Linked DNA regions of Homo sapiens: regions 2 and 3 are each linked to region 1. Evidence: promoter capture Hi-C in human tissues and cell types (Jung and others, 2019). All regions are on one chromosome and are shown on one strand. The core of a region is centred on a gene start or on the middle of the fragment in contact, and the rest is flanking DNA. Distances in the headings are between cores, read along the strand shown. Region 1 holds the start of RPL18A (ribosomal protein L18a). Region 2 holds the start of PGPEP1 (pyroglutamyl-peptidase I). Region 3 has its middle 7.1 kb from the start of MPV17L2.

Region 1 (3,055 bases), core at 179-2,678:
TTTGGGGGTGGGCAGGCAGCGACCCACTACCTTGTACTCTCGTAGCTGAAAGGAAACAGGAGTGAGGGTAAGGCCAGCACCCAGAGGCAACTGTGGAGATCCACCTCACTCCCTTTCCTACATCTAGTGACCACAGATTCGGGAAGCAGGAGGCAGGGCCACCCTAGGGCCTCCATGTGGATTCTTGGTGACTGTAGGTCACACTCCCGACCACAACTTTATACACAAAATGAACTGAGGAGAGGGAGGTCTCCAGGGAGGATTAATTGAGTTGCCTGCCTCTCCTTTGCCTGGGCTAAGGGTTTCAGACCAGGAAAGCTGTGGCTTAGACCCACAGCCTCCTTTCTTCATGCTGCAGTCCTGAATTGCTTTGCAGTCGCCGTCAAACAGCCACTCTGCACCTCAAAACATCCAGCCAACATCTTCTTTCACCCTGAGGCCCAGTGACCAGCATGGGATCTCACAGCCCATTCCAGGCAGAACTAGGACAAGACCTCAGGTCTCTCCCCAGCCCTGGGATCCCTGCACTGTTGCCACGCGAGCTGCGGCTGCCTCCGTTTTCCCAACTGCAATCCAAACGTTTGGCCCAGGGAAGACTCCCGGTTTACAGATGCAGAGGTGAGAATCTTTGGTCAAGTCCAGGCTCTGTGATATGGCACAAAGAAACCACCTCTGAAACTGACTCGCCAGCTTTTCACTAGTTATCAATGAAAAATAGTCACAAATTATCGCAGTTCCTACTTTTACTGTGAACCTGACCCACCGGCCTCGGCACACGTTCAGGAAGGGAACAATGGGGCCCGCCCCTTTGACAGCAAGGAAACCGAAGCTGGAGATCTGGACATAATACACCCACTCCATGGGAGTCCAGGTTCTCCTATCTCTGCGCCATAGAGCCGTTTGATTCTATCCAGTATGTACCACAGCGTTAAGCCTCACGCTCCCCGTTTCGGCTCACTGTTAGCAATTTTCATCTGCTTCTCACAGCCATTCCGGCAGAAAGAAAACACACTATTGCTCTACCGCCACGTCCACGTTGCAGAAAGGAAAACAGAAACTTGGCGGCTCGACGAGGTGCCGGGGCTAGGGCCTCTATGCTGCGCGACTTATTCCTTCCCCCGGGAAGAAGACCCGGAGTCCTTGGGCCCCCGCGATCCCTGAGCTGGCCCAGGTCACGCATCGCTCTCTCCACGCGGCTCCCACGATGGCCGCCATGTTGGGTGCAACAAGAGAAGGCGGCGCGCGGCCAAGGGGGGCCCAAACAGAAGCGCGCGGCACCAACCCGGCCCACGCCACTTATGCAGGCCCCTGATGGGGCCCGTGCCCCATCCCTTGGCCCCCTGCCGCGCCGCGCCCGCCTTACCGTGCCCGAGGCCTTCATGGCGTGCTCTCCGCGTTCGCCGCCACCCGCAAAAGGAAGTGTCCTCTGTCGCGCAGCCGTTCACCAGGCCTTCACTACCGGAAGACCCGCCCTCTCAATGCCGCACGTCCATTGGCTTCTCTGCCCCGCACTCAAAGCGACCCGCGTCTTCATTGGCTATGGATCCACCTGCTACTCAAAGTTCCGCCTCTCTTCAGCGAGACTTCGTTTCCCAGAAGGCAACGAGGCAAGCTCCACCTGTTCCACCACGACCGCAACGGAGCGTCTGCGCGCGCGGCACGTCGGGAGTTGTAGGCACTCCGCCAGTCCCGGCTGCAACTAGGGGCGGCGGCGCGCGCCGCCTGCAGGATGCCTAAGCATTGAACCTAAGCTACCTCGGGTGGCTGCGGTGTTTACCGTGAGATCCCGATGCTTCACACTCGGGGCCTCATCCTCCGGGGAGGTGTGTTACGGAGGTCTCCACCAGATACCTGAGGGTATCTGTAAAATGGGAATACAAATAATATATTTTTCTCCTAGCGATGTTGCAGCACGAATATTGAATAAGCTCTGGAATGCTGTTTTTGTTAATTTGGGGTCCGATTTGTGTTTCGTAGTAGCTGGGATTCAAACTCTGTCTGTCTGCCTCCAGTTCATAAGAACCTGAGGGAGCAGGGGTTGGGGGAGAGCGCGCGGAGAGCCGGAGAATGGATCAAGATCCAGCCGCCCACTTTGAGGGGCTTGGACTTAGCAGTTTGCTTGGGCAGAAAGAAGCCCTCCTGGGGATGAGGACGGGGACCAGATATGAAAAAAGAAACACCCGCAAACAACTCCCTGATGACAAGGCTATGAAGTAAAATTAAGAGGAAAGAGGCAGGAGGCTGAGGCATGAGAATCGTTTGAACCCAGGAGCCAGAGGTTGCAGTGACCCGAGATTGCGCCACTGTACTCCAGCCTGGGCGACAGAGTGAGACTCTGTCTCAAAAAAAAAAAAAAAAAAAAAAGACCAGGCGCGGTGGCTCACGCCTGTCATCCCAGCACTTTGGGAGGCCGAGGCGGGTGGATCACTTGAGGTCAGGAGTTCGAGACCAGCCTGGCCAACATGGCGAAACCCCGTCTCTACTAAAAATACAAAAATTAGCCGGGCGTGGTGGCGGGCGCCTGTAATCCCAGCTACTCGGGAGGCTAAGGCAGAAGAATCGCTTGAACCTGGGAGATGGAGGTTGTAGTAAGCCGAGATCTGGCCATTGCACTCCAGCCTGGGAGACAGGGCGAGACTCCGACTCAGAAAAAAAAGAAAGAAAGAAAGAAAGAAAATAAAGGACAGCAAGCATGCAATTTTTTATTTTCATTTTCTTATTTTGCATTTCTGGTTCTCTTAATCTGGTTTTGTGGATTCAAGTCACTACTGGGTGTGATTTTCTTTTCTTTTCTTTTTCTTTTATTTTTTGAGACTGAGTCTTACTCTTTTCCCCAGGCCAGAGTGCAGTGGCGCTATCTCGGCTCACTGCAACCTCTGCCTCCTGGGTTCAAGCAATTCTCCCGCCTCAGCCTCCAGAGTAGCTGGGATTACAGGCGCCCGCCACGATGCCCAGGTAATTTTTGTATTTTTAGTAGACACAGGGTTTTACCATGTTGGTTAGGCTGGTCTCGAACTCCTGACCTCAGGTAATCCGCCTGCCTCCACCTCCCAAA
Region 2 (3,055 bases), core at 153-2,652, 480 kb before region 1:
GGAGGCGAAGGTTGCAGTGAGCCGAGATCGCGCCGTTGTGCTCCAGCTTGGGCAACAAGAGCAAAACTCCGTCTCAAAAAAAAAAAAATACGGTCCATCTGGGCCAGTGATCCCACAGGATATGAATGCTATGCAGAGATGCTGTAGCCTGGGATAGCAGGTAGGGGCTGTGGCTCAGGAGGGGACCTCCTAACTCTATCCTTCTGTACAGCCAAAGTTTGAGTCTCAGCTCAGCCCCTTACAAACTGGATGACCTCTGTGAGCCTCAGTTTCCCTTTCTGCAAAATGGAGACAGTAAAGATGTAATCAGCTCATGCAAAAAGTGCTGGAATAAATAACCAGATAAAGGAAGGCTGGAAGGGATGGGGGCAGTGACCCTCCTCCCAATTATACACACCTGTTAAGCAGGTGCCTTGTTTCTTCCTTCTTCCCTGAATCTCCTGGATCAGCCTCAATCTCCCTTCAACAGCCACAAAACACCTGTGTGCACCTTTGCTGGATTTCCCACTCTGACCCCTCCAGACAGCAGGTCAAAATGACCCCCCCACTCCTTGACTCTGAGGCCCCAGCGGAAGTTGGCGCCCCACGTGGCCCCGAGGCGGAGTCTCAGGGAGGAGAAACAGTTGGTTTGGGGGTGGGGGGGAGTCGGTGACAGCAGGGGCCCTGACTCACCAACAAACAGCCCTGGCACAAAACACAAAAAGGTTTCCGCTGAAGACAGTCCCTGGGACAGCTGGGAGAGCCCGAGGTCCCCGGACCCCCACCTGCCCCTGCCTTGGGAGAGTAGCCCCCCAGGAGCGCAGGGCGCGGCGAGCAGTGACTGGGAGGTTCATTTGTCACTGGGACACTTCCTGCCCGCAAATCGGCCTTTGTCCCCTGGGGCCAGGGGTTGGGGGAGCGGTGTGGGGACAGGCTGGACCTCGGAAGGGGCAGGGAGGAAGGGTCCAGTCCAGCCCGCAGGCCAGACAGAGGAGGCAGGTGCCAGGAGGGTCACCATCCCCACCTTGGGAGGAAAGGACGCCAGGGGGGCCTGCGCAGCGCCGGGCTTTTGCCCGGCCCCCCAAGCCCCGCGCCCGACTGCCCTGACTCCCGACCCTGGGACCCCCAAGGCTCCTCCTCCTCCACTTTCCAGGAAGCCTGGGCTGCGCGGGGCTCCCGCGGGTGATGACACCTTCCAAATCTGAGAGGACTTCCAGCACCTGCCCCTCTCGGCCCCGCAGTCCCGGAGCCGCCCCCGCCTCTGCCCCCGGCCGCTGCCGCTACAGCCCCCATCAGCCAGCGTACCCGTCACTACCACCGCCTTCCTCGGCTGCTCCATGGCGGGATCGGGCTGTGCCTCGGACCTGCTTCTGTTGCGACTGGCGCGACAGCTGCTGCCGCTGCAGCCTCTCGGCCGCGCGAGGCCACGCCCCTGTCAAGCCCCCGGCCTCGCCCCCGGTCAGCCGCTCGGCGTGCGCGCCCCCGGGCCCGAGACGCAGCGTGCGCGCCCTGCGCCCCGCCCCCGTCGGCTAGGCCCGGTATTCCCCAGCCTCCGTTTCCCCGTCTGCAAAATGGGAACATCTTATGCCGTAGTGTGTAGCCGCTTGCACGCACTGAGCCAGGTGCTGGGGATGAGCCGGTCCTTTATTCTGCAAGGGTTCATTGAGGGCCTGCCCTATGCATGCATACTGCGCAGAATTAGGGAGGGAAGTCCCCGCGAGCAAGGCCCGTTTTCCAGATAAGGAAACTGAGGCACAGAATGCCACTTCCCCGAGGTCACTCGCCTCAAGGGGTCACAGGAGCAGCATTCAGGCCAGGAAGTTGGCGGGGGTGGGGGAGGACAGAGTAAAAAAGGAAAAACACGACAACCATATTTGTGTGGTGCCAGAAGTTTCTCTGCAGGCCCCCATGGTCCTAGGAGGCTAATGGGGGAGGGCGATTGTACCTGCTGTTCCCTCTGCCGGAACACACCCCGCAGGTACCTGCGAAGCTGGCCTCCTTCAGGCCTCAGCTCCAGTGTTCCAATGTCGCCTCCTCCCAGGGGCCCTCCTCCTGTCCTGGCTGTCACCTCCTCCGAGGGGTGAACTGTCACTTTCTCCTTGTGGCCTTCTCTGGCTATCACCTCCCTGCTATCCTATTACCTCCTCTGAGGGTTCCTTCTGGCCCTCCTTGGCTGAAATGACCTCACTGCTACCCCCCAGTGGTTCCATCTCATTCCCTGGTTCCATCCTCTTCATAGCAATAAAGCTCAGAAATAATTTCCTTTCTCTCTCTTTTTTTTGGAGACAGGGTCTCACTCTGTTACCCAGGCTGGAGTGCAGTGGCAAAATCATAGCTCTGTAACTTTGACCTCCAGGGCTCAACTGATCCTCACATCTCAGCCTCCTGAGTAGCTGGGACTACAGGTGTGTGGCACCACACCCAGCTAATTTTTGTATTTTTGTAGAGATGGGGGTTTCATAGTGTTGCACAGGCTGGTCTCGAACTCCCGAGCTCAAGCAATCCGCACACCTTGGCCTCCCAAAAGTGCTGGGATTACAGGTGTAAACCAGCACACCTGGCCAGAAATCATTTTTAATTTTTTTTAGCTTTTAAGTTTTGGGGTACATGTGCAGGTTTGTTATATAGATAAACTCGTGTCATGGGGTTTGTTGTACAGATTATTTAGTCCCCCAGGTATTATTAAGCAGAAATTATATATGTATTTATTTATTTGAGACGTAGTTTCACTCTTGTCACCCAGGCTGGAGTGCAGTGGTGTGATCTTGGCTCACTGCAACCTCTGCCTCCCGGGTTCAAGCAATTCTCCCACCTCAGCCTCCCAAGTAGCTGGGATTACAGGCGAGTGCCGCCATACCCAGCTAATTTTGTATTTTTAGTAGAGAGGGAGGTTCACCATGTTGGCCAGGCTGGTCTCGAACTCCTGACTTCAGGTGATCCACCCTTTTCAGCTCCCAAAGTGCTGGGATTACAGGCGTGAACCACTGCCTCCGGCCCCCTCCCCAGGTATTATTAAGCAGAAATCATTTAGTATGGTCACAGCCTCTCTGGTTGGCTTCCCGTTTCCTCCGACATA
Region 3 (3,055 bases), core at 231-2,730, 330 kb before region 1:
ATTAGCTAGGTGTGGTGGTGCATGTCTGTAATCTGAGCTACTTGGAGGCTGAGGCAGGAGAATCGCTTGAACCTGGGAGGCGGAGTTTGCAGTGAGCTGAGATCATGCCATTGCACTCCAGCCTGGGCGACAGAGCGAGATTTTGTCTCAAAAAAAAAAAAAAAAATTGTTGCTTGGCCGGGCTCGGTGGCTTATGCCTGTAATCCTACCATTTGGGACCTGGATGCAGGAGGATCGCTTGAGGTCAGGAGTTGGAGTTGCCCAGATGCCTGGGCAACATGGTAAGACCAGGTAACATGGTAAGACCGGATAACAAAATTATCCGGGTACGGTAGTGCACACCTGTAGTCCCAGCTACTTGAGAGGCTGACGTGGGAGGATCGCTTGAGTCCCAGAGGCTGAGTCTTCAGCTGGCTGAGATGGTGACACTACACTCTGGCCTGGATGACACAGCGAGACCCTGCCTCAAAAAGTAAAATAAAAAATAAAATTAAGAGAATTTATGGGGCTGGGTGCGGTGGGTCATGGCTGTAATTCCATCACTTTGGGAGGCCGAGGCAGGCGGATCACCTGATGTCGGGAGTTCAAGACCAGCCTGGCCAACATAGTGAAACCCCGTCTCTACTAAAAATACAAAAATCAGCCAGGCATGATGGCGGGTGCCTGTAATCCCAGCTACATGGGAGGCTGAGGCGGGAGAATCACTTGAACCCGGGAGGCAAAGGTTGCAGTGAGCCGAGATCTTGTCATTGCACTCCAGCCTGGGCGACAGAGCCAGGCTCTGTCTCAAAAACAGAAAAACAAAAGATACTTTATTGCTTCCCAGGAAGAGCAGCTTTTGATACCTGGCAGTAATTTTTGTATGTTTCTGTTGATAGTGTTCAGGACATGTCACCCATAACATACCAGCATACAACTTTGGCATATTGATATTGAGAATTTTGAGTTAAACACACTTGCAAACAGTGGATGCAAGAAGGGCTCTTCTTTTTATTTTTTTGAGAGGGAGTCTCACTCTGTTGCCCAGTCTGGAGTGCAGTGGCATGATCTTGGCTCACTGCAACCTCCACCTCCCGGGTTCAAGTGATTCTCTTATCTCAGCCTTCCAAGTATCTGGGATTACAGGCATGTACCACCATGGCCGGCTAATTTTTGTATGTCTAGTAGAGACGGGGTTTTGCCATGTTGGTCTGGCTGGTCTTGATCCCCTGACCTCAGTTATCTGCCCATCTCAGCCTCCCAAAATTCTAGGATTACAGGCACGAACCACCGCAGCCAGCCCAGAAGGGCTCTGTGATCTATCTTTTTATTTTTTCTTTATTTTTGAGAAGGAGTCTCACTCTGTTGCCCAGGCTGGAGTGCAGTGGCGCGATCTCAGCTCACTGCAACCTCCGCCACCCAGGTTCAAGTGATTCTCCTGCCTCAGCCTCCCAAGTAGCTAGGATTATGGGCGCCCGCCACCACGCCTGGCTAATTTTTGTATTTTTACTAGAGACGGGTTTTATCATGTTGGCCAGGCTGGTCTTGAACTCCTGACCTCAGGTGATCCCCCAGCCTCTGCCTCACAAAGTACTGGGATTACAGGCATGAGCTACCGTGCCCGGCCAAAATTTTTAAAAAATTAGCCAGGTGTGGTGGTGTGCAACTCTAGTCCCAACTACTTGGGAGGCTGAGACAGGAGGATTGCTTGGGCCTGAGAGGTCAAGGCTTCAGTGAGCTGTGATCCCGCTACTGCACTCCAGTCTGGATGACACAGCAAGACCCTGTCTCAAAACAAACACTTAGGTCTAGTTACTTTTTTCGGTCTCCATTTTTCTCGTGAGGGCTCCCATCTACAATGAATAAGCTTTGTGTGCTATTGTTTTGTTAATCTGTCTGTCAGTCTGAGCCAGACACCAGAGAGAGGAGGAAAGCTCTAGCCCTGCTAGTTTCTGGTGATGAGGATGGGCTACAATTGGCTGGGAATATCTGCTCCCTCTGGGGTCTGCAGGGGAGAAATGCTGGGACCTGACAAGCCAATGCAAAGTAAGAATTCAGCCGGACGCGGTGGCTCATGCCTGTAATCCCAGCTTTTTGAGAGGCTGAGGTGGGTGGATTACTTGAGGTCAGGAGATCAAGACCAGTCTGGCCAACACGGTGAAACCCCATCTCTACCAAAAAATAGCAAAATTAGCTGAGTGTGGTGGTGTGTGCCTGTAGTCCCAGTTACTCGGGAGTCTGAGGCAGGAGAATCACTGAAACCTGGGAAGCTGGGGTTTCAGTGAGCTGAGATAGCACCACTGAATTCCAGCCTGGGCAACAGAGTGAGACTTTGTCTCAGAAAAAAAAAAAAAAAAAAAAAAAGGCTGGCACGGTGACTCACACCAGTAATCCCAGCACTTTGGGAGGCCGAGGTGGGTGGATCACCTGAGGTCAGGAGTTCAAGACCAGCCTGGCCAACATGGTGAAACCCCGTCTCTACTAAAAATACAAAAAAATTATCCAGGCGTAGTGGCAGGCACCTGTAATCCCAGCTAATCGGGAGGCTGAGGCAGAAGAACCGCTTGAACCCGGGAAATGGAGGTTGCAGTGAGCCGAGAAAGTACCACTGCACTCCAGCCTGGGCAACAGAGCCAGACTCCGTCTCAAAAAAAAAAAAGAAAAGGACGAATTCTTATCAGGCTGGGATTATGGCTCACACCTGTGATCCCAGCACTTTGGGAGGCTGAAGCAGGAGGATCACTTGAGCTCAGGAGTTTGAGACCAGCCTGGGGAACATAGCAAGACCCCATCTCCACAAAAATTTAAAAAATTAGCTCGGATAGGTGGTGCATGCCTGTAGTCCCAGCTACTCAGAAGTTTGAGGCAAAGGGGATTCTAGAGCCCAGGATTTGGAGACTGCAGTGAGCTGTGATCACATCACTGCATTCCAGGCTGGGCAACAGAGCAAGACTCTTTCAGGGAAAAAAAAAAAGGTGCTGTATAACACCACCAGGTCACCCTTGGATACTTTCCTAGAAGAAGCCAAGAGCCCTCCTGGGCTAAGCCCAAAATTTGGGGCTCCCCTGCAATGGAT

The links. The method cuts DNA at HindIII sites, captures the fragments that hold promoters and counts their contacts. A contact is called where the count stands out against the background at its distance.
Region 2: a contact is called between the fragment with the promoter of PGPEP1 here and the fragment with the promoter of RPL18A in region 1, in 2 of the 25 tissues and cell types used here (lymphoblastoid cells and spleen).
Region 3: a fragment that was not itself captured here is called in contact with the fragment with the promoter of RPL18A in region 1 in 1 of the 25 tissues and cell types used here (spleen).

The regions. Positions count from the first base shown.
Region 1 is chr19:17,858,283-17,861,337 of GRCh38, reverse strand. It overlaps RPL18A (ribosomal protein L18a), which reads right to left and starts at 1,428. Exons shown (of 5, transcript NM_000980.4): 1 at 1,364-1,428; 2 at 1-45. The coding sequence starts at 1,381. RefSeq lists enhancers at 1,433-1,812, 1,145-1,880. The HindIII fragment of the contact is 5,224 bases long and covers 1,331-3,055 here.
Region 2 is chr19:18,338,945-18,341,999 of GRCh38, reverse strand. It overlaps PGPEP1 (pyroglutamyl-peptidase I), which reads right to left and starts at 1,402. Exons shown (of 5, transcript NM_017712.4): 1 at 1,285-1,402. The coding sequence starts at 1,318. RefSeq lists an enhancer at 845-1,532 and a silencer at 1,364-1,553. The HindIII fragment of the contact is 61,917 bases long and covers 1-3,055 here.
Region 3 is chr19:18,184,605-18,187,659 of GRCh38, reverse strand. No RefSeq gene overlaps it. Among named protein-coding and RNA genes, the nearest start is that of MPV17L2, 7.1 kb to the left of the region's middle. The HindIII fragment of the contact is 5,661 bases long and covers 1-3,055 here.